Linked DNA regions of Homo sapiens: all the other regions are linked to region 4. The links are contacts of gene promoters, found by promoter capture Hi-C in blood cells and fetal thymus (Javierre and others, 2016). All regions are on one chromosome and are shown on one strand. Each heading gives the region's core, a stretch centred on a gene start or on the middle of the fragment in contact. The rest is flanking DNA. Distances are from core to core; before and after follow the strand shown.

Evidence for each region. Contacts are between HindIII fragments. The CHiCAGO score rates a contact against its expected background, and 5 or more counts as called.
Region 1: a contact is called between the fragment with the promoter of MRPL51 here and the fragment with the promoter of PHB2 in region 4, in 10 of 17 cell types (non-activated CD4 T cells, total CD8 T cells, total B cells and 7 more). The highest score is 13.8, in non-activated CD4 T cells.
Region 2: a fragment that was not itself captured here is called in contact with the fragment with the promoter of PHB2 in region 4 in 2 of 17 cell types (naive CD8 T cells and activated CD4 T cells); the score reaches 5.9 in naive CD8 T cells.
Region 3: a fragment that was not itself captured here is called in contact with the fragment with the promoter of PHB2 in region 4 in 5 of 17 cell types (non-activated CD4 T cells, naive CD4 T cells, total CD8 T cells and 2 more); the score reaches 7.5 in non-activated CD4 T cells.
Region 5: a contact is called between the fragment with the promoter of PIANP here and the fragment with the promoter of PHB2 in region 4, in 8 of 17 cell types (non-activated CD4 T cells, naive CD8 T cells, total B cells and 5 more). The highest score is 11.8, in non-activated CD4 T cells.

What each region holds. Positions count from the first base shown.
Region 1 is chr12:6,491,436-6,494,842 of GRCh38, reverse strand. MRPL51 (mitochondrial ribosomal protein L51) reads left to right here and starts at 1,581. Exons shown (of 3, transcript NM_016497.4): 1 at 1,581-1,785; 2 at 1,871-1,981; 3 at 2,376-2,957. The coding sequence starts at 1,707. The coding sequence ends at 2,572. It overlaps NCAPD2 (non-SMC condensin I complex subunit D2), which reads right to left and starts at 741. Exons shown (of 32, transcript NM_014865.4): 1 at 689-741. RefSeq lists a silencer at 784-1,113 and enhancers at 549-1,146, 1,314-1,363. The HindIII fragment of the contact is 4,003 bases long and covers 1-1,776 here.
Region 2 is chr12:6,459,014-6,462,904 of GRCh38, reverse strand. TAPBPL (TAP binding protein like) reads right to left here. Exons shown (of 7, transcript NM_018009.5): 6 at 1,967-2,050; 7 at 589-871. The coding sequence ends at 756. VAMP1 (vesicle associated membrane protein 1) reads left to right here. Exons shown (of 5, transcript NM_014231.5): 5 at 1-668. Among named protein-coding and RNA genes, the nearest start is that of TAPBPL, 8.9 kb to the right of the region's middle. The HindIII fragment of the contact is 2,094 bases long and covers 1,371-3,464 here.
Region 3 is chr12:6,591,503-6,594,886 of GRCh38, reverse strand. CHD4 (chromodomain helicase DNA binding protein 4) reads left to right here. Exons shown (of 40, transcript NM_001273.5): 15 at 237-428; 16 at 1,271-1,471; 17 at 1,659-1,796; 18 at 2,070-2,191; 19 at 2,321-2,494; 20 at 2,830-2,971; 21 at 3,062-3,193; 22 at 3,304-3,384. Among named protein-coding and RNA genes, the nearest start is that of CHD4, 14 kb to the left of the region's middle. The HindIII fragment of the contact is 4,036 bases long and covers 1-3,384 here.
Region 4 is chr12:6,969,052-6,972,452 of GRCh38, reverse strand. It overlaps PHB2 (prohibitin 2), which reads left to right and starts at 1,789. Exons shown (of 10, transcript NM_001144831.2): 1 at 1,789-2,036; 2 at 2,173-2,257; 3 at 2,876-2,955. The coding sequence starts at 1,910. EMG1 (EMG1 N1-specific pseudouridine methyltransferase) reads right to left here and starts at 1,540. Exons shown (of 6, transcript NM_006331.8): 1 at 1,362-1,540. The coding sequence starts at 1,529. RefSeq lists enhancers at 1,233-1,352, 1,403-1,582, 1,673-1,742, 1,263-1,865. The HindIII fragment of the contact is 5,065 bases long and covers 1-3,218 here.
Region 5 is chr12:6,699,231-6,703,102 of GRCh38, reverse strand. PIANP (PILR alpha associated neural protein) reads left to right here and starts at 2,288. Exons shown (of 5, transcript NM_001244014.2): 1 at 2,288-2,489. RefSeq lists an enhancer at 3,007-3,508. The HindIII fragment of the contact is 12,862 bases long and covers 1-3,872 here.

The DNA.
Region 1 (3,407 bases), core at 332-2,831, 480 kb after region 4:
AATTCTAGTAGTGACTTTGGCACTTGGTCTTGACACTTAAACCTCTGGGCTTTATCTGTAAAAACAGGGTTACTAAACTCTGATTACTTCACAAAGTTGCTCTGATGATCAAACAAATCAAGCAGTACGAAGGTGTTTAAAGAACTATAAAGTGGCATATTAATGTGCAAAGTACTATTATTTCCATTTTTATGTGCAAAGCTCCTTAAGTATAGAGAGAATGGTCTGATCTCGTCTGAGGCCAAAACAGTGCCCCAGCATGGGCTAGTGGGCTTCCTGCACCAGAATGGTAAGAGCATTAACAATGATGATTTATTTATCCTGTGCCAAGTCTGTTAGGCTGTTTGCATGTATCATATCTGATCTAAGTATCCTAACCTCAATCCCATGAGGTGCATAATAATACAAATGAGTTTACAGAGCGGAAATTGAAGTAAGAAAGTTAAGCGATTTGCTTAACATCTTCCGTTGCGGATCTGTTAAGCGATTTGCTTAACATCTTCCGTTGCGGATCTGTTAAGCGATTTGCTTAACAACTTCCGTTGCGGATCTGTCAGACTTACAGTTTCTCACACATCGCGCCCCAGGGATATACTTACTAGGCCTATTGTATTTTGCCCAAGACTGGGTCACACTGCCATGTACTCGACTTTCCTACTCTTTTACGACCTGCAACACCACATCTTACCTGGGGATCTCACCCGCGGCTCTGATTCCGGCAGTCAGGCTGAAATGAAAAGGAAAAAACACGCGTGCACAACACGCACCAATTAGCAAGGCAGTTTTCAAGTCGGCGGAGAATCCGGCCAATCCCCGGCAGGCAGAGGCAAAGGGCCGCCTCTGAGTCTGGCAACGCGCGGGCAAAGCCACAAATACCGAGTTCAAATCTCAACGGCTGCAGGACGGCCAATCGCGACGCCCGCCGGAGCGGCCGGCCAATCACAGCGCCGCCCGGGGGCGGGCCAAGGCTCCGGCTCCGGCCCCCGCTCCCACCCCCGGCCCGCCTGCGAATCCCTCCTTGGCCGCAAGGTCCCCCTTTGCCCAGTCGGCGGGGAGGAGGCCGTATTTCTGCTGGCCAGAGACGTCGCGTCCCTGGCTGGGCATTCAGTCACCCCCAGGAAAGGAGGCAAGTCCACGCTGGGAGTTAGAAGGCATCGCCTCTAATCCAGGTTTCGCCATCTCCTCTGCTAAGTGACGTCCAGCAAGTCACTTCACTTTCAGGACCTCAAATCTCCTCCCCAGTAGTAAAATAGGGGTAATAAAAACAGCTACAGCGGAAGACTGTTGTGAGGCACAGAGAAAGGGCTTGGTCATTGGAAGCGGGTTCCAGGTTCTCAACCTTCATTTCCTTCACGGTTGAAGGACGCCAAAGAAAGCGGAAAGGGTGAATTTTCTTGAAATCTCAGTTTTGGGGAATCTTAGCGACGAGTCGCGGACCTCAGCTTGTCCGGCGCTCCAAAACTTCCGGCAGGCGGACCGGAAGCACTGAGGCGGGAAGGGTGGTAGAGGCCCCTCCTGCCGGAACCCGGGGGGCGGGGCTCGTGGCTGTTGCGGATGGGGCGTAGGTGGGCGGTGCGCCCACAGCTGCCTGGGTAAGGCCCAAGATGGCTGTCTTCGCCTTAGTACTCGTGTGAAGTTGGCGGGGACGGTTCCTGTCATCTTCTTGGGCTTATTTGGTGTGCTGTTGAAGGGGGGAGACTAGAGAAATGGCAGGGAACCTCTTATCCGGGGCAGGTAGGCGCCTGTGGGACTGGGTGCCTCTGGCGTGCAGAAGCTTCTCTCTTGGTAAGTGGCTGATGTAGGCACCCCGATAACTGCTTCGTAGTATAATAGGCGGCTCAGATTAATTCCCTCCCTTCCCCATCCCCAGGTGTGCCTAGATTGATCGGTATAAGGCTCACTCTCCCGCCCCCCAAAGTGGTTGATCGTTGGAACGAGAAAAGGGCCATGTTCGGAGTGTATGACAACATCGGGATCCTGGGTAAGACTTGACCTTCGACGTGGTACACAATTTCAGAATGGCAATTAGGCTGTAACGACTATCTTTTCCTCCTGTGTAGAGAGTGGTACTGTGCTCAATAGTAAGAGCAAACACTTATGTAGCTGTTTACATTGTGTTTGGCACTGTTCTGAGTCCCCTCGTATAATTTTTACTTCATAAGTAAAAATAAACAGTTTTTCCAAAGTTAATAAATGGCAGCATCAGAATTTTAACCCCAAGCAGTCTGGCTCCAGAGTCTGTGCTATTGTTCTGTACTGTAATGTTCCTTGTCTATAGGTGCTGCTCAGCAAGATGCAACCGTGGGTTGAAAGCTTAGCTGGTGTAGGATGAGTTCTCTTGTCTTGGATCTAATGTGTTCTCTCACATTACACAGGAAACTTTGAAAAGCACCCCAAAGAACTGATCAGGGGGCCCATATGGCTTCGAGGTTGGAAAGGGAATGAATTGCAACGTTGTATCCGAAAGAGGAAAATGGTTGGAAGTAGAATGTTCGCTGATGACCTGCACAACCTTAATAAACGCATCCGCTATCTCTACAAACACTTTAACCGACATGGGAAGTTTCGATAGAAGAGAAAGCTGAGAACTTCGGAAAAGGCTCATCTGTCACCCTGGAGAAGGGAAACTGTACTTTTCCCTGTGAGGAAACGGCTTTGTATTTTCTCTGTAATAAAATGGGGCTTCTTTGGAATTTGATAGCCACATACTTTTGTTTTCCTCTAGATGCTGCCTCTACTCATGTAGACTATGAAGTCTTGACTCATCCTAGATCTTAGGATCTTAGGTTTGGGCTTCACACCACTTGCCTTTTACAGTCTAGCTATACCTAATTCCTTTAAAAAGAAAAGTTGGTGAGAATGTTATTGGCGCTTTTTGACATAATGCTGTTATGTTAATAGTGTTTCTAAAGAGCCTTCCACACTGAAATGAAATATAAGAGAAAAATGGAGTCATACTTCTGTACTACTCTCATAAAATATTTATTAGGCATATTCTCTGAGTAGGAACTATAGGAAAAACAAAAAAGTGTGAGGTGTCCTTTCCATTTAAATATGAAACATTAAGTACCATATGAATGGTAGAGATGGCGGATACTAAGCCTGACTGGTCATCAGTTTTCTGGGTGTTTTAACATTTCAAAAGCCTAGTCCTAACCCCTAAAGATTGATCAGTAGAGCTGAGTTGAGTCTAGGGCATCTATGTGTTTTGTTCTTTTTTAATAATAATTTTTAAGAATTACAGCTGGGCAGAATGGTGCCCACATGTAATCCCAGCATTTTGGGAGGCTGAGGTGGGAGGATTGCTTGGAGACAGGAATTTGAGACTGGTCTGGGCGACATGGTGAAACTCCGTCTCTACTAAAAATAAAGTGGCTGGGTGCGGTGGCTCCTGCCTGTAATCCCAG
Region 2 (3,891 bases), core at 1,168-3,667, 510 kb after region 4:
CTCAAAACCATCCTTCCTTTCCTTTCGCCCTTGTTTCCCACATTCCCTTCGTCCTGCCCAAGGGCGGGACTGAAGAGCTGGAAGAAAGCAGTCAGTACCCTCCCAACGGCCCCCCTCGAAGGTCTCCACTCTCCTCTGGGCTCCTCCTTGCCTAATGCAGGGGGTCACCGCTGGAGAAGAACCACCACTGTCCTCGATGTGTCCCAAGCCTGGAGCGAATCCGTCCTCTTGGCTCTCCCAGCCCTATCACAGGAATCATTCCTGGGTTTCTGTCCCTCTGAGGCTCACCAGGTGTAGTTGGCCTTGTTCTTTGGGGGTATTAGCCCTTCTACTTTCTTTCTCACCCACCCTGTACCCTCTTCTGTGTGTCTCTGCTATCCCCCTTTCCTCCCACCACCCATGTGCATGAGCAAATGTGCAACAAAACCCTGGGACTTTGCAGTCAAATGAAGCTGAGCTTCCCACATCCCGTTCTTCGGTTTGCCATGAGACGATGTGGGGTTTCCACTGTGTGTCTGTCATCACCTCTTTGTCTTTTTTTCCTAACCCTGATCTCATACTTGTATAGAGTAATAACAACAGTTGTACTTCCACCAAAGGCATGTGGCATATTTACCAATGTCATGTATTCTGAACAAAGGCAAAAAATACAAATTCCTACCATTAAACTGGCTTGGTTGTTGTTTGGGTTGGAGTAGCTGTGGGGGCTTGGGGAAGGGTGTCGTTTCTTTCTAGTAGTCTCATGTCGCTTTAGGTCAGCTGGGCTGGCTTACACGCGCTGTGCGGTCTTCATGGAGATGGGAGCTCTGTGTGTCAGCACAGGAAGTGGTCTCCCAGCGTTCAGCCTGAAGCAGCCCAAGTCCTGTAGGTGCTGGTAAGAGGAAGTGAAGACAGGAAGTTGCGTGGGCATCTCACACTGGCAAACAAGCACAGGTTCCCTCAGGCCTCTTCCATCTGCCTCCTGTGCTCCTTCCTAGGTCCTTGGCCTGCTTGTCCTGTCCCAGGGGATGTGCCCAGATAAGGCTGTCAGTGAACACCCCCTTACCCCCTTTTCCCCATCATCCTCACGTACAGTTTTGGTATGCTGAGTTCCACCGTATTGATTAGGCACATTTTAGAAACGAATAAAAAGGAGAAGTCTCTCCTTGCAGCTGAGGGAGTGAGGCATTTGCAGGTATCCTGAACCTCCCAGCAGTCACCCGAGGGAGCAGAACCCTAATTGCAGCTGAGGTGCAACTGAGATGGAGCCACGGGGGTGCCTCTGAGGGCCTTTGTTTCATACTTAAACACTTTGCAAGTTGGAGCCGCTAGGCTTGGTGACAGGGCTCAGTTGGGACCAGTGTGGAGAAAGACAGGAAAGTGGAAAAGCTTGGTCGCAGCAGACACAAGGGCCTTTTATTTTGACAGAGCTGAGTTTGGGAGGGGTAGCCCAGCCCCAACCCATGCCTCATTGTCCCTCACTTGTTCCTTCTCCATTTCCTCCAGCTTTGTTTTCCTACCGTCACACCACCAACCTGGCTCTTTGGTCTTATCCTCCATCTGGACATTCTGCCTTCTTCTTGTCCCCTCACTTCTTCCTGTTCTCTGCCTTGGTGCATGAGCCCAGGGTGCACAGTGAAGGAAGGCAGAGGCCTCTGCAGAGCCAGGCCCAGTGCCCCATGAGCTGGTGCCACCTTCATGTATTTTTAGCTCTGTGACTTGACTTAGAGTCCTTCTGGGAGCACGTGACTACTCTTTCTTTCTACTCTGAGGCAGGAGAGTGACAGACTTTAGTGAGGTAGCTAGGAGAAAACGAGGGAACACGACTGGTTTCATTTTCATTTAGGGCAAACTCAAAAGCAGGAGGCTGTGATGGGTGGGTGGCTGGAGCTTGGGGCATCTGGGCTTCCACCCTGGTCTGGGCGGGGGGGTGGTTAGAGTGGGTGAGGTGGGCCAGGGCCAGAGCCAAGGGCACCCAGGCTCTTACCTTGCCGTCTCTGAAGCCCCAGGAACATCAGTGCAAGAAGGAAGAGACTGCTGGCAAAGATGACTCCCAAGGCTGTTCTCCGCTCTGTAGGTGAGAGCAACGTGGGCGGGGATCATCGTGCGCAGGAATCATGAGCTGAGCCCTCACCTGCAGTGTCCACCCCAGGGAGGAGGAGCTAAGGATTGTGTGTGTGAGTCCCTGGTTGAGGAGCCTGGAACAAGGCACTCAGCAGCATTTGTTCTTATTCAAGGTTGCTGGATACTTGTGAGTTACTCCACACAGAATTCTCTACCTCTTCCCACCTAAGGACAAGGTTTTAAAAATTGCTTTGCAAGTGAGATTTAGGTGGGTTTATTTGTTAGCACTTAACTTGCCTGGACACAGTGGCTCATGCCTGTAATCCCAGAACTTTGGGAGGCTGAGGTAGGTGGATCACCTGAGGTCAGGAGTTCGAGACCAGCCTGGGCAACATGGTGAAACCCTGTCTGTACAAAAAATACAAAAAATTAACTGGGCATGTTGGTGTGCGCCTGTGGTCCCAGGTACTTGGGAGGCTGAGGTGGGAGAATCACTTGAGCCTGGGAGGCAGAGTTTGCAGTGAGCTGAGATCGTGCCACTGCACTCCAGCCTGGGCGACAGAGTGAGACCCTATCTCAAAACAAAACAAAATAAAACAAAGCAAAACAAAAAACCACCAGTTAACTGGGATTTTGTAAATAGTTGGGGAATGATGTGAGCTGAAGTGAAACCTCAGTTTTGGGGAAGTTCACAGTCTAATGAGCAACCAAATAATGCCCAGTGCTCCTGGATGTTTCCACTTCAAGTTGCGGGTTCTTTCCTGTCCCTTTCCTGCTTAAAACCTCTCGACAGGCAGGGTGCGGTGGCTCATATCTGTAATCCCAGCACTTTGGGAAGCCGAGGCGGACAGATCACCTGAGGTCAGGAGTTTGAGACCAGCCTGGCCATCATGGCGAAACCCCATCTCTACTAAAAACGCAAAATTAGCCAGGCGTGGTGGTGCGCGCCTGTAATCCCAGCTACTTGGGAGGCTGAGGCAAGAGGATGGCTTGAACCCAGGATATGGAGGTTGCAGTGAGCTGAGATCATACCACTGCACTCCAGCCTGGGGAACAGAGCAAGATTCTGTATCGAAAAAAAGTAAAATAAAATAAAATAAATAAATAAATAAATAAATAAATAAATAAATAAATAAAACCTTTCAACAGCATGCTATGGCTCTCAGGAAGTTCCAGCTTGAAGGCCCAGTGAGATCTACAGGGTTTAATTAAGCCCGTAAGGGGAATCCGGTTGCCTGTTTTTCACATTCTCTCTTTACCATTGATTGATAGGTGACCTTGGGCAAATTCATTGACATCTGCAAGTGCCAGTTTACTCACCTGTAAAATGGGAGTCATGATCCATGAAATCATACATTTAAGTGCTTTCTACACTGCTTGATTCATGTAAATGCTCAATAAATAGAATTACCTCCGAAGCTTCAGAGCCACTTTCCCTTTTTCCCATATACCCTAAGCTCTAGCTGTGCTGAATTACTTGCAATTCTCCAAATTCTCTTTAGGCTGTTTTATGATTTGGCTTTCATATATGCTATTGTTTCTATCTTGAGTGTTCCCTTCCCTCTAAGCTAGTTAACTTGGCTCAAATGCCATCTTCTCTGTCTACTTAGTCTTGTCTCTATTACTGGACTAAGCTCCTGGAGGGCATGATCAGGAATTATTCATCTGTGATCTCCAGCCTTAAGCACATTGCCTGACACCCTGGAGGCTGGAGTATAATGAAGTCTCAGGGGATGTGTGGTAGAAGCTGTGGCAGCTGCCGCCTTGGGAAAATAGTCAGGAGCAGAGGCAGGAGCATGAAGCCAGGGCTGCGAACAAAGTGGATGGGCAGCAGAACAAGGCCATAGA
Region 3 (3,384 bases), core at 282-2,781, 380 kb after region 4:
CGTGCTTTTCCTCAGTGATCTGTAGGATCAAAATCAGGTCTGGTTAAGCCCTGTTTCCTGGAGGACCCTAAACTGAACATGAAATTGCAGTAATCATAGGGGATCTCTTCCCTCCGAATTTTCCGGAGCTCTTCCCCAAGAGGATCCGTGAAGACTAGTGAGGAGGAAGCAGCTGCTCTATTAGGGGAGGAGGGGAGTTCCTTGCCAGCTCTTGACTTCTCTGTTTCATCCTTCAGCCAACAGTGAAGTATGAGCGACAGCCAGAGTACCTGGATGCTACAGGTGGAACCCTGCACCCCTATCAAATGGAGGGCCTGAATTGGTTGCGCTTCTCCTGGGCTCAGGGCACTGACACCATCTTGGCTGATGAGATGGGCCTTGGGAAAACTGTACAGACAGCAGTCTTCCTGTATTCCCTTTACAAGGAGGTAAGGAAATCTGGGGTGGATAGTTTTTTGTGTGGGTGTTTTGTGTTTGAAGCCTTAACTTACACTGAGTAGAGAGATAAGGGAATAAAAAAATTGGTCTCTGACCTTCAAGAACACTGTGGATAATAGATAAACACATGTACACATGTGTTTAGTAGATAGTAGATAAATGTGATAGTGGATAAACACATGTACACAGCGGAAGATTTGAGGGCATGGAGCCCTGGGTAGGATTAGCAGTGGATCCATAGAGTATCAGTTCTAGGGGAATGATTGTGTGTTGAGGGAAGTAGAATTATGAGTAGAATTAGTATGGAAAGGCTTGGCTGGACGCAGTGGCTCATACCTGTAATCCCAGCACTTTGGAAGCCCGAGGTTGGTGGATCACCTGAGGTCAGGAGTTCGAGACCAGCCTGACCAACATGGCGAAACCCCGTCTCTACTAAAAATACAAAATTAGCCGGATGTGGTGGTGCACGCCTGTAATCCCAGCTACTTGGGAGGCTGAGGCAGGAGAATCGCTTGAACCCGGGAGGTGGAGGTTGCAGTGAGCTGAGATTGCGCCATTGCACTCCAGCCTGGGCAACAAGAGTGAAACTCCGTCTCAGAAAAAAAGTATATAAAGACTTAATGGGAGAGGTAAGACTTGTAGTTATGGTGGGACCTTGGGTTTTTGGAAAGGAGTGGGCTGGGCACTTGTATAGAGGAAGGTGAGAGCAGGAGCAGCAGCGCAGGTGTGTCAGTCCTTGGCTCAGCTTGAGGGGGCAGCAGGGTGGTGGGTGTTCGCTGGGGTTGCAGTGTGCTGGGGCCCTCAGTCCTGACTCTCCTCTTTTTTCTCAAAGGGTCATTCCAAAGGCCCCTTCCTAGTGAGCGCCCCTCTTTCTACCATCATCAACTGGGAGCGGGAGTTTGAAATGTGGGCTCCAGACATGTATGTCGTAACCTATGTGGGTGACAAGGACAGCCGTGCCATCATCCGAGAGAATGAGTTCTCCTTTGAAGACAATGCCATTCGTGGTGGCAAGAAGGCCTCCCGCATGAAGGTATCTCAGGGGAGGGAAGCCACCCTAGAGAAAGAGTTGTGGCTTCTGGCTTAGTTTACCTCCTTGTGATCTGGTCCCTGGTGAGGCAAAAGGGTAACCCTGGGAGGAGGAAAACATTCCATCAGTCTCCTGGTTGTGCTTACACAGAGGAACTGACTAGTAGTGACCAAGTTGCCTTCATGTGCAGAAAGAGGCATCTGTGAAATTCCATGTGCTGCTGACATCCTATGAATTGATCACCATTGACATGGCTATTTTGGGCTCTATTGATTGGGCCTGCCTCATCGTGGATGAAGCCCATCGGCTGAAGAACAATCAGTCTAAGGTGAGGGCTGAGGGAGGGATGTTGGAGCCCCCACTTTGGGTTTTTTCTAGTACTACCAATTCATTAAGGGGAAAACTTGTAGATGGAGAGGAGAGGGGAAAATTGTCTCTGCCTTCCTTCCTTGTATGTGACAGCCCTTGGTGGCCAGGCCTTTAAAAAGAATGTGAGGAGTGGGATGCTTAACTATTGGGCAGTGAAAAACTTGAAATTTTGTAGAGATTTGCTAGAGCTCTGTTTTCATTGGATTTCACCTTTCTCCATCTGCTTCACCAGTTCTTCCGGGTATTGAATGGTTACTCACTCCAGCACAAGCTGTTGCTGACTGGGACACCATTACAAAACAATCTGGAAGAGTTGTTTCATCTGCTCAACTTTCTCACCCCCGAGAGGTTCCAGTAAGTATGTGTTTATCTGTAATCGGCTCATAATTGTGCCTCTCATTCTTCCTGTTGCCCATTTCCTGTATCACTTTTCTTTCTTCCTTTCTCCTTCTCCAATAACTTTTTTCCTTTTTCTTTCTGAAGCAATTTGGAAGGTTTTTTGGAGGAGTTTGCTGACATTGCCAAGGAGGACCAGATAAAAAAACTGCATGACATGCTGGGGCCGCACATGTTGCGGCGGCTCAAAGCCGATGTGTTCAAGAACATGCCCTCCAAGACAGAACTAATTGTGCGTGTGGAGCTGAGCCCTATGCAGAAGTGAGTTGGGAGGGACAGAAGCAGACTCCATTTAGACATCTGCCAGTCTGCAGAGTGTTTCCTATTCCTCCCCCACTCAGCTTCAAGGCATCTGGTGACAGGAGCAAGCAAGGCCTGAAGAAACCTGATGCTAGGGCGCTGGAGCGCATAGTTCTTACTTATTTTAGGTTATACCTTTCCTTATTTAAAATGGTGGTGGTGGTAGTGCTTGTGCGTTAGGTGTCCTTAGTTCCAAAGTGGGATGTGTTGGAAGAAAGATCTCAGTTGTTGGCACTGCATTATTAGTCATTGAAAGGCTCTCAAGTCTAACCTGTCTTTCTACCTTGCCCATGTAGGAAATACTACAAGTACATCCTCACTCGAAATTTTGAAGCACTCAATGCCCGAGGTGGTGGCAACCAGGTGTCTCTGCTGAATGTGGTGATGGATCTTAAGAAGTGCTGCAACCATCCATACCTCTTCCCTGTGGCTGCAATGGTATGTAGTGCCATCTCCTGTTCCTCCCTGGGTTGGGTCTTCTCCATGTGGGCTTTCTTTTAATACTTTTTTCTTTGCATTTGTTCTCAGGAAGCTCCTAAGATGCCTAATGGCATGTATGATGGCAGTGCCCTAATCAGAGCATCTGGGAAATTATTGCTGCTGCAGAAAATGCTCAAGAACCTTAAGGAGGGTGGGCATCGTGTACTCATCTTTTCCCAGGTATCATGTGGACTGGGAGCTTTAGGGAACAGTCATAGACAACCCTTAGTGACCTAAGGAAAGGGATTACCATCTGACTCTTCCATAATTAAACCGTGCTTCTTTTGCAGATGACCAAGATGCTAGACCTGCTAGAGGATTTCTTGGAACATGAAGGTTATAAATACGAACGCATCGATGGTGGAATCACT
Region 4 (3,401 bases), core at 540-3,039:
GTCTAGCAACATTCTTGAGATATATGGCTCCAAAAAGTCTGCGAAAAAAGGGATGTAGATTTTGAAATTGAATAGTTGAAGTAATGTCACAGAGAGCACAAAGAACAAATGACCAAGAACTAAGTCCATGAGACACCCTTAGTTATAGAAGAAAAAAACCTTCTTGAATGAATAATACAGTTTCAACCCATTAGTAGGATATAATCATGTTTTCTATTCTTTTAATAGATTACAGGCGCAGGCCTGTAATCCCAGCTACTCTGGAGGCTGAGGCAGGAGAATCGATTGAACCCGGGAGGCGGAGGCTGCAGTGAGCCAAGATCGTGCCACTGCACTCCAGCCTGGTAGAGACTGAGACTCCATCTCAAAAAAAAAAAAAAAAAAAAGTGTATTTAGAACGAAGATTAAAATCCTGGCCTGACTTCTAAACCAATGCGATTTCTTCTGGGCCTATTCAATTAGTTCTAACGGGTAAGAGAAAGGAGGAGGAAGAACACTGCCCAAGGCTTTAAGATAGAGAACTGCTGGTTCTATTACATGTGGGGAAAGAGATGAATGATAGATAAAAATGCAGATGTAAAAGTTTTAAATAATAACCAGGTCTGGACAGTGTATCATAGGTGGATATTAGAGAGAGGTGACTATGGATACTAATGAATTGAAACACGAAGCCCTTACAAAAAGTGTGGGCAGACTAGGCTACATAACTACGTTTCTCATCTGCCCAGTAACTTGTCTTGGGATGTGGAATGACGCAAGGAACGAAACTTTCCTCTGCTTAGACTACTATACCACAGAATCCTGGTAAACCAATTGGAAGCAAGGAGGTGAGGGCTAGAATATCATTCAAAAAGAGCAAAAGAAAATGAGTACTACCGGCCGGGCACAGTGGCTCACGCCTCTAATCCCAACACTTTGGGAGGCCGAGGCGGGCGGATCACTTGAGGTCAGGAGTTCGAGACCAGCGTGGCCAACATGGTGAAACCCCATCTGAACTAAAAATACAAAAAAATTAGCCGGGCGTGGTGGCACCTGCCTGTAGTCCCAGCTACTCCAGAGGCTGAGTCAGGAGAACTGTTTGAAGGCGGGAGGCAGAAGTTGCAGTGAGCCGAGGTCGCGCAACTGCACTCCAGCCTGGGCGACAGAGCGAGACTCCGTCTCAAAAAAAAAAAAAAAAAGAAAGAAAAATGAGTACTACCATCCCAGGATGTCAAATCAACGCAAAGCCAACCAAGCCACCTTCCTTCAAAAGCATCTTTCACCCCTCTCTGCTTTCTACATCCACTCTGGGCCCCTTACCCTCATTCCACGGAGTCCCAACCTATCGATTTACTACTTCTCCACTTCCTGTCCCAAACTACCTTGACTGTCTCCAGACTGGCCCCTTCCAGCACCACAATAAGCCTACGGCCTCCGATCTTGTTTCCTGCCCCTAGTCGGGGCCGCTTGGGTGGCAGAGCATCCCAGTCCTGTGCCTGCTCCCCACCGCTTCGTTCACGAGGCTTGAATCCATCACTGGGCGCGGCCATCTTGCAACAATACCGGAAGTTGCGCTAACGCTCTTAAATAAGAACAGCGCGGCTTCTAATCACAAATTTCCTTCCGGCTGCCATTTTGAAAGTGGGCCAGGAAATGGAGATGACTTGCTGTCTTGCGCTGCCCTCCCTGGGAGGGCAGCCTTCCAGAAAGGGGCGGGACTTCCGTATGCGCGATTCCTGTGCGCGAAGTTCGGGTCCGTAGTGGGCTAAGGGGGAGGGTTTCAAAGGGAGCGCACTTCCGCTGCCCTTTCTTTCGCCAGCCTTACGGGCCCGAACCCTCGTGTGAAGGGTGCAGTACCTAAGCCGGAGCGGGGTAGAGGCGGGCCGGCACCCCCTTCTGACCTCCAGTGCCGCCGGCCTCAAGATCAGACATGGCCCAGAACTTGAAGGACTTGGCGGGACGGCTGCCCGCCGGGCCCCGGGGCATGGGCACGGCCCTGAAGCTGTTGCTGGGGGCCGGCGCCGTGGCCTACGGTGTGCGCGAATCTGTGTTCACCGGTGAGCAACCTCCGCCTGCTCGCCGGACGCTTCCAGTCCCTCCCCCAAACCCCTTGCCCTGTCCCCGCGCCCCTCCACGGGCCTAGCATTTCCTCTGAGCAGCGGCCTGGCCTGATCACCACCCATCTCCCCACAGTGGAAGGCGGGCACAGAGCCATCTTCTTCAATCGGATCGGTGGAGTGCAGCAGGACACTATCCTGGCCGAGGGCCTTCACTTCAGGTAATGGCGGGCAGAGCCTGCTGACCCTGACCTTTCACCCTTGACGCCGACCCAGCAGTGGCTATAGTCGGACGTGCAACAGGATTCAACGCTGCTCTTTTCCCACCCTCCTCATCCCTGCCCCTAGGATAGTGGGTGCTGCGAGAACCTCCAGCAGCATACAAACTGTTGTTTTCCAGAGGGACAAGAGAATCTCTCCTTGTCTGTGGTCGTGGAGAGGAGCAGGCCAAAAAACGCGTGGTGAGGGGAAACCGGGCAAGGCTAGTGAAACTGCGGCCTTTTCTTTTTTTTTTTTTGGAGAGGGAGTCTTGCTCTGTCGCCCAGGCTGGAGTGCAGTGGCGCGATCTCGGCTCACTGCAACCTCCGCCTCCTGATTTCAAGCGATTCTCCTGCCTCAGCCTCACGAGTAGCTGGGATTACAGGCGCCCGCCACCACGCCCGGCTAATTTTTGTATTTTAGTAGAGACGGGGTTTCACTATGTAGATCAAGCTGGTCTCGAACTCCTGACCTCAAATGATCCGCCCGCCTCGGCCTCCCAAAGTGCTGGGATTACAGGCGTGAGCCACCGCGCCCGGCCGAAACTGTGGCCTCTTAATACCTATCCCTGTCCTCTCCAGGATCCCTTGGTTCCAGTACCCCATTATCTATGACATTCGGGCCAGACCTCGAAAAATCTCCTCCCCTACAGGCTCCAAAGGTAGGTCTGAGCACTTGGTAATCACATGGCAGGTGGGATGATCAAGGTAGCTGGCAAGAAACCCCAGGGGAATATGGTAGTGTCAGGCCTTTAGGCCTCTTTCCACATCTGCAAGAGCTGTAACAAAAATACCTGCCTCCTGGGGTCAAAGCAGCAAATTCTGAACACACTGTGTTTGCGTGCTTTTTACTGTCTCCTCCCTGACGTGTATTCAATAAGAGTATTGTTTGTCCCTCGTCTTGTTCACTGCCTAGATCAAAGCTTTGTTTTAAAGCCTTTTTTTTCTAACTGCTTGACTTACTATATCTACAGTTACATCCACTAGTACACTCTGTTCTGGAGAAGTTTGTCCCTAAGCTTGACTAGTTCACCTGTTCTCTCCTTCTAGACCATACATAAAAGCCGTGCCTTTGAGTTCCCCAGACCTCTTCCTCCTCCCCACCCAC
Region 5 (3,872 bases), core at 1,039-3,538, 270 kb after region 4:
CAAATAGAAAGTGATGAGTTGGAAAGACAATGAAACATAATGAGGAAACAGAGTGGGGGCCACTTTAGATTTTGAGCAGGGATGAAGGAGCCAACCAGGTGAAGATGGGGAGAGGGGTGGCAAAACATTCCAGGAAGAGGGAATCAAAAGTGGAGGGGCCGGGCGCAGTGGCTCACGCCTGTAATCTCAGAACTTCGTGAGGCCAAGGCTGGTGGATCATTTGAGGTCAGGAGTTCAAGACTAGCCTGGCCAACATGGTGAAACCCTGTCTCTACAAAAAATACAAAAATTAGCAGGGCACTAGTGGGCACTGCCAGAGGGGTGGGAGGGCTGGGAAGGCTGGAAGGGCCCCCCTGCATGCACACGCTAGCTACTTGGGAAGCTGAGGCAGGAGAATTGCTTGACCCTGGGAGGCGGAGGTTGCAGTAAACTGAGATCGTGCCATTGCACTCCAGCCTGGGCAACAGAGAGACACACTGTCTCGAGAAAAAAAAAAAGTGCAGGGATGCTAAGAGAATGACTTCTGATGTTACAGAACAGCAAGTAGTCTGATCCAGCAGGAGCACTGTGTATGAGGTGGGTACAGGCTGGTGGGCTTCTCCTTACAAGGAGTTCAGATTTATTCCAAGTGTAATGAAAAACCACTCGAATATTTTAAGCAGAGAAGAGCATGACATGCTTTTGATTTTTAAAATATTATCAATATAGGAAAAACTAGTTTGTAAAGACAAGGGCAGAAGCAGGGACCAGTGAGGAAGCTATTATGATAATCTGGATGAGACATGATGGCTTAGACCAAGACTATAGCAATAAAGATAGAAGGAGATGAATTCGGGATATATTTTGGACGCAGAGCCCACAGGACTTGTTGGTGAATTAGATACAGGGAGAGAATCAGTGAAAAAAAGGGGAAGGGAGGGATGTTTCCTAGATTTTTAGCCTGAACAACTAGTAGTTGTGAAGCCTCAGGATGGGGATCACTGGGAGAAAAATGGATTGGGGGTGGGGGAATTCAAGACATCTATTTTAGTCAAGTTAGCTTTGCATGGCTATTAGACATCCAAGTGGAGATGTCAAGTAGGCTGTCGGATAAATGAGTCTGGCGCTCTGGATATAAATTTAGGACTCACTGACATTTACATAGTATTTAAGCCCTGGGACCGGATGAGATCACTGGACAGAGAATGTGGAAAGAGAGAATGGCCAAGGACTAAGCCCTAGGAGGCTCCAACATTTAGAGGTCACCCGAGGAAGACTAAGAACAGTCAGTGAGGTTGGAGGGAAATGAGGAGAGTGTGGTGTCCTGGAAGTGCCCTGAGGAAAAACAGCGTAGTGTGGTAGAGAGGGATGGGATCCAGGTGGTGGGAGAAGGGGCAGGAGAGGCTACTTTTGATAGAGACATTAGGGAAGGCCTCCCAGAAGGCGTTGGATCTAAGTGAGACTGGAATGAAAACAGTAAGTCATTGTGAAAAGCCAGGGAAATGTATTACTGAGGGAACAGCAAGTGCAAAGGCCCTGAGGCAGGTTAAACCTGTCTCCAACCAGGAAATCCACCAGGTCCCATGTGGCTGAAGCATAGAAATCTTTAGGAAAGGCAATCAGAGAGCCACCTAAGAGCCAGGTTATATAGGGTCTTGTAAGTCACAGCACGGAGTCTAGGTATTCCAGTGCTGGAAAAGCCCAGGAATTTCGACGTGATCCACTTAATGCATGGTAGCAGGGCCAGAGTGAAATAGGGGATCAAGCTGTGGGGATAATCCAAAGATGGTGCAAGGTCCTTCCTCCCCAGTCCTTTCCTCCACCCCTTGCCCCCAGCCTTGACCTCAGGCACTTTCTACAGCGGGCAAAACCAAGTTGGGGGACAGGCAGTGGTGACTCACGCCTGTAATCCCAGCACTCCGGGAAGCTGAGCGGGAAGGATCGCTTGAGCCCAGGCGTTCGAGACCGGGCTGGGCAACACAGCGAGACCTCATCTCTACAAAACACAATACAAAAGAACAAAGTTGGGAATGCAGAGCATTGAGTGACTCAGAATCTCAGAAACTGACTGAGGCGACCATGGGTGTCCCTGGAGTTGGGGTGAAGGAGGTGGGGAGACTGCCATCAGAACCCAGGGAAGCGGACGGTCGCTGGACCCTGCCAGCCTCTTCAGCCCTCCACCTGGGACATAGCCTGGCTTGACTCCTGCAGCGCGGCAGCAGGAGGGTTAAACCGTGCGTGGCCTCCGGCGCGGGGGGGAGGCGGAGACGGAGACGGAGCGGTCCCAGCCGCCGCGCCGAGCCCAGCCGAGCCGAGCCGAGCCGAGCCGAGGCGAGCATCTCCCACCGCCGCCGCCCCGCGCCCCAGGCGCCCGCCCCCCACCCGCTCCAGCGCCCTGCCGCGGGCCAAACCTCCCCACCATGCCCCGCACCCCGCCCGCTCCTGCGACCCCCCAGCCCCGCTCAGTCCCGAGCGCCCGCAGTCGTCGCGCCGCCGCGCCAAGCATGCAGGTGAGTGAGAGGGACCCCCACGCCCCCACCCGCGGGGAGCCCGGCCCTGCCCTTCCCGGCTCCGCGCCCTGCGCCTCCTGCCCCTCCCGACGCGGTCCCTCGCCCGGGACAAGGCCTCCAGCCTCCCAGCGCCCCTTCCCCGAAGGGCTCTCCATCCCTCCGCGGTCCTGGCTCGCTCCCGCCCTCCCTGGCGCAGCCGTCCCCGTCCCCGCGGCTGCCTCCATCCCGCCTCGGCTCGGCGGGCGGCTCCGCGCAGTCTCCTGCTTCGGGTCCCCAGTCCGCTCTCGGCACTCCCTGCCTCGGGGTCCCTTCGCCGACCTCCTTTTCCTCGTCTCCCCCCACTCTCGCCGCTCTCCAGCCCTGTGCGGGGAGTGCGGGCCTGCGGGATGGGTGGGATGGGGGCCACGCTGGGGCTGGGGCCCGGCTCCCGCACCCCGAGGCTCCTGCCCCACCCCCAGCTCGTCTCCTGCGCACAACAGGTCGGTGAGAAGCTGGGAGAGGGGTGGGGGTGGCGCGCCAGCCCGGGGACTGCGGGCTTCCTGGAGGGGGCGGCTGAAGCTGTGCGGGGCCCAGGGACTGGGTTGGCGCTGGCTGGGGGTGGGGATGCACAGGCGGAGGGGCGATAGTCCTAGAGTCAGCTGGCCACAGATGCGCCCTGGGAGCCCTTCTCCGCTTCACTGGTTCGCTCTACACGCCTCGCTCCCTCCCTCTAGCTTTCTTCCTTTCCCCTCTCTCTCCCTTCTTCCCACCATGCCCCCATCCCTATGTCTTTCGGTATCTCCACATCCCTTTACATTTGGGGGAGCAATTCCGAACTCCTCCATCTTTGCTGCTCCCGCCTCTGCTTCCCAGCCCGTTCCTCGTGTCATTTTTCCTTAAGCATTTATGTTCTCTCCTTCCCCACTTCCTTTCTCCCCATCCTGGGCTTTCCCCCCTTTTCTCCCATCCCCTTACTCTCCACTCCTCTGGCTGTCCTGCCTGGACCGCTCTCTCCTTCTCCTCCTGCCCCTTCTTCCCCTGCACCTGTGACCCCTTCATCCTCTCCGTTTCCCCTCCCTGACCTTTTCTCTCATCCTTTCCTCCCTTCGGCATCCTCCACAGTTCGAGTCTTCTGTACCCACTCTCCTCCTCTCTTCCCAGTTCTCTCTTTTTCAGGACTGCCTGCTCTCTCTCACCCTGCACTCCAGGCCAGCTTCCTCTTCACATTTCTCCTCTCTCACTCTTAACCAGCCTTCCATCTCCCAGCCCTTCACCCCTTCCCATCTCTCCCACTGCCTGCTTCCCCACGCCCTTCCCGTGACTTTCCCATCTTGTTCCCTTGTTGTTCTCTGGGAAGATTCAATGGGCAGATTTATTTATTTTATTTTTTGAGTCGGAGTCTCG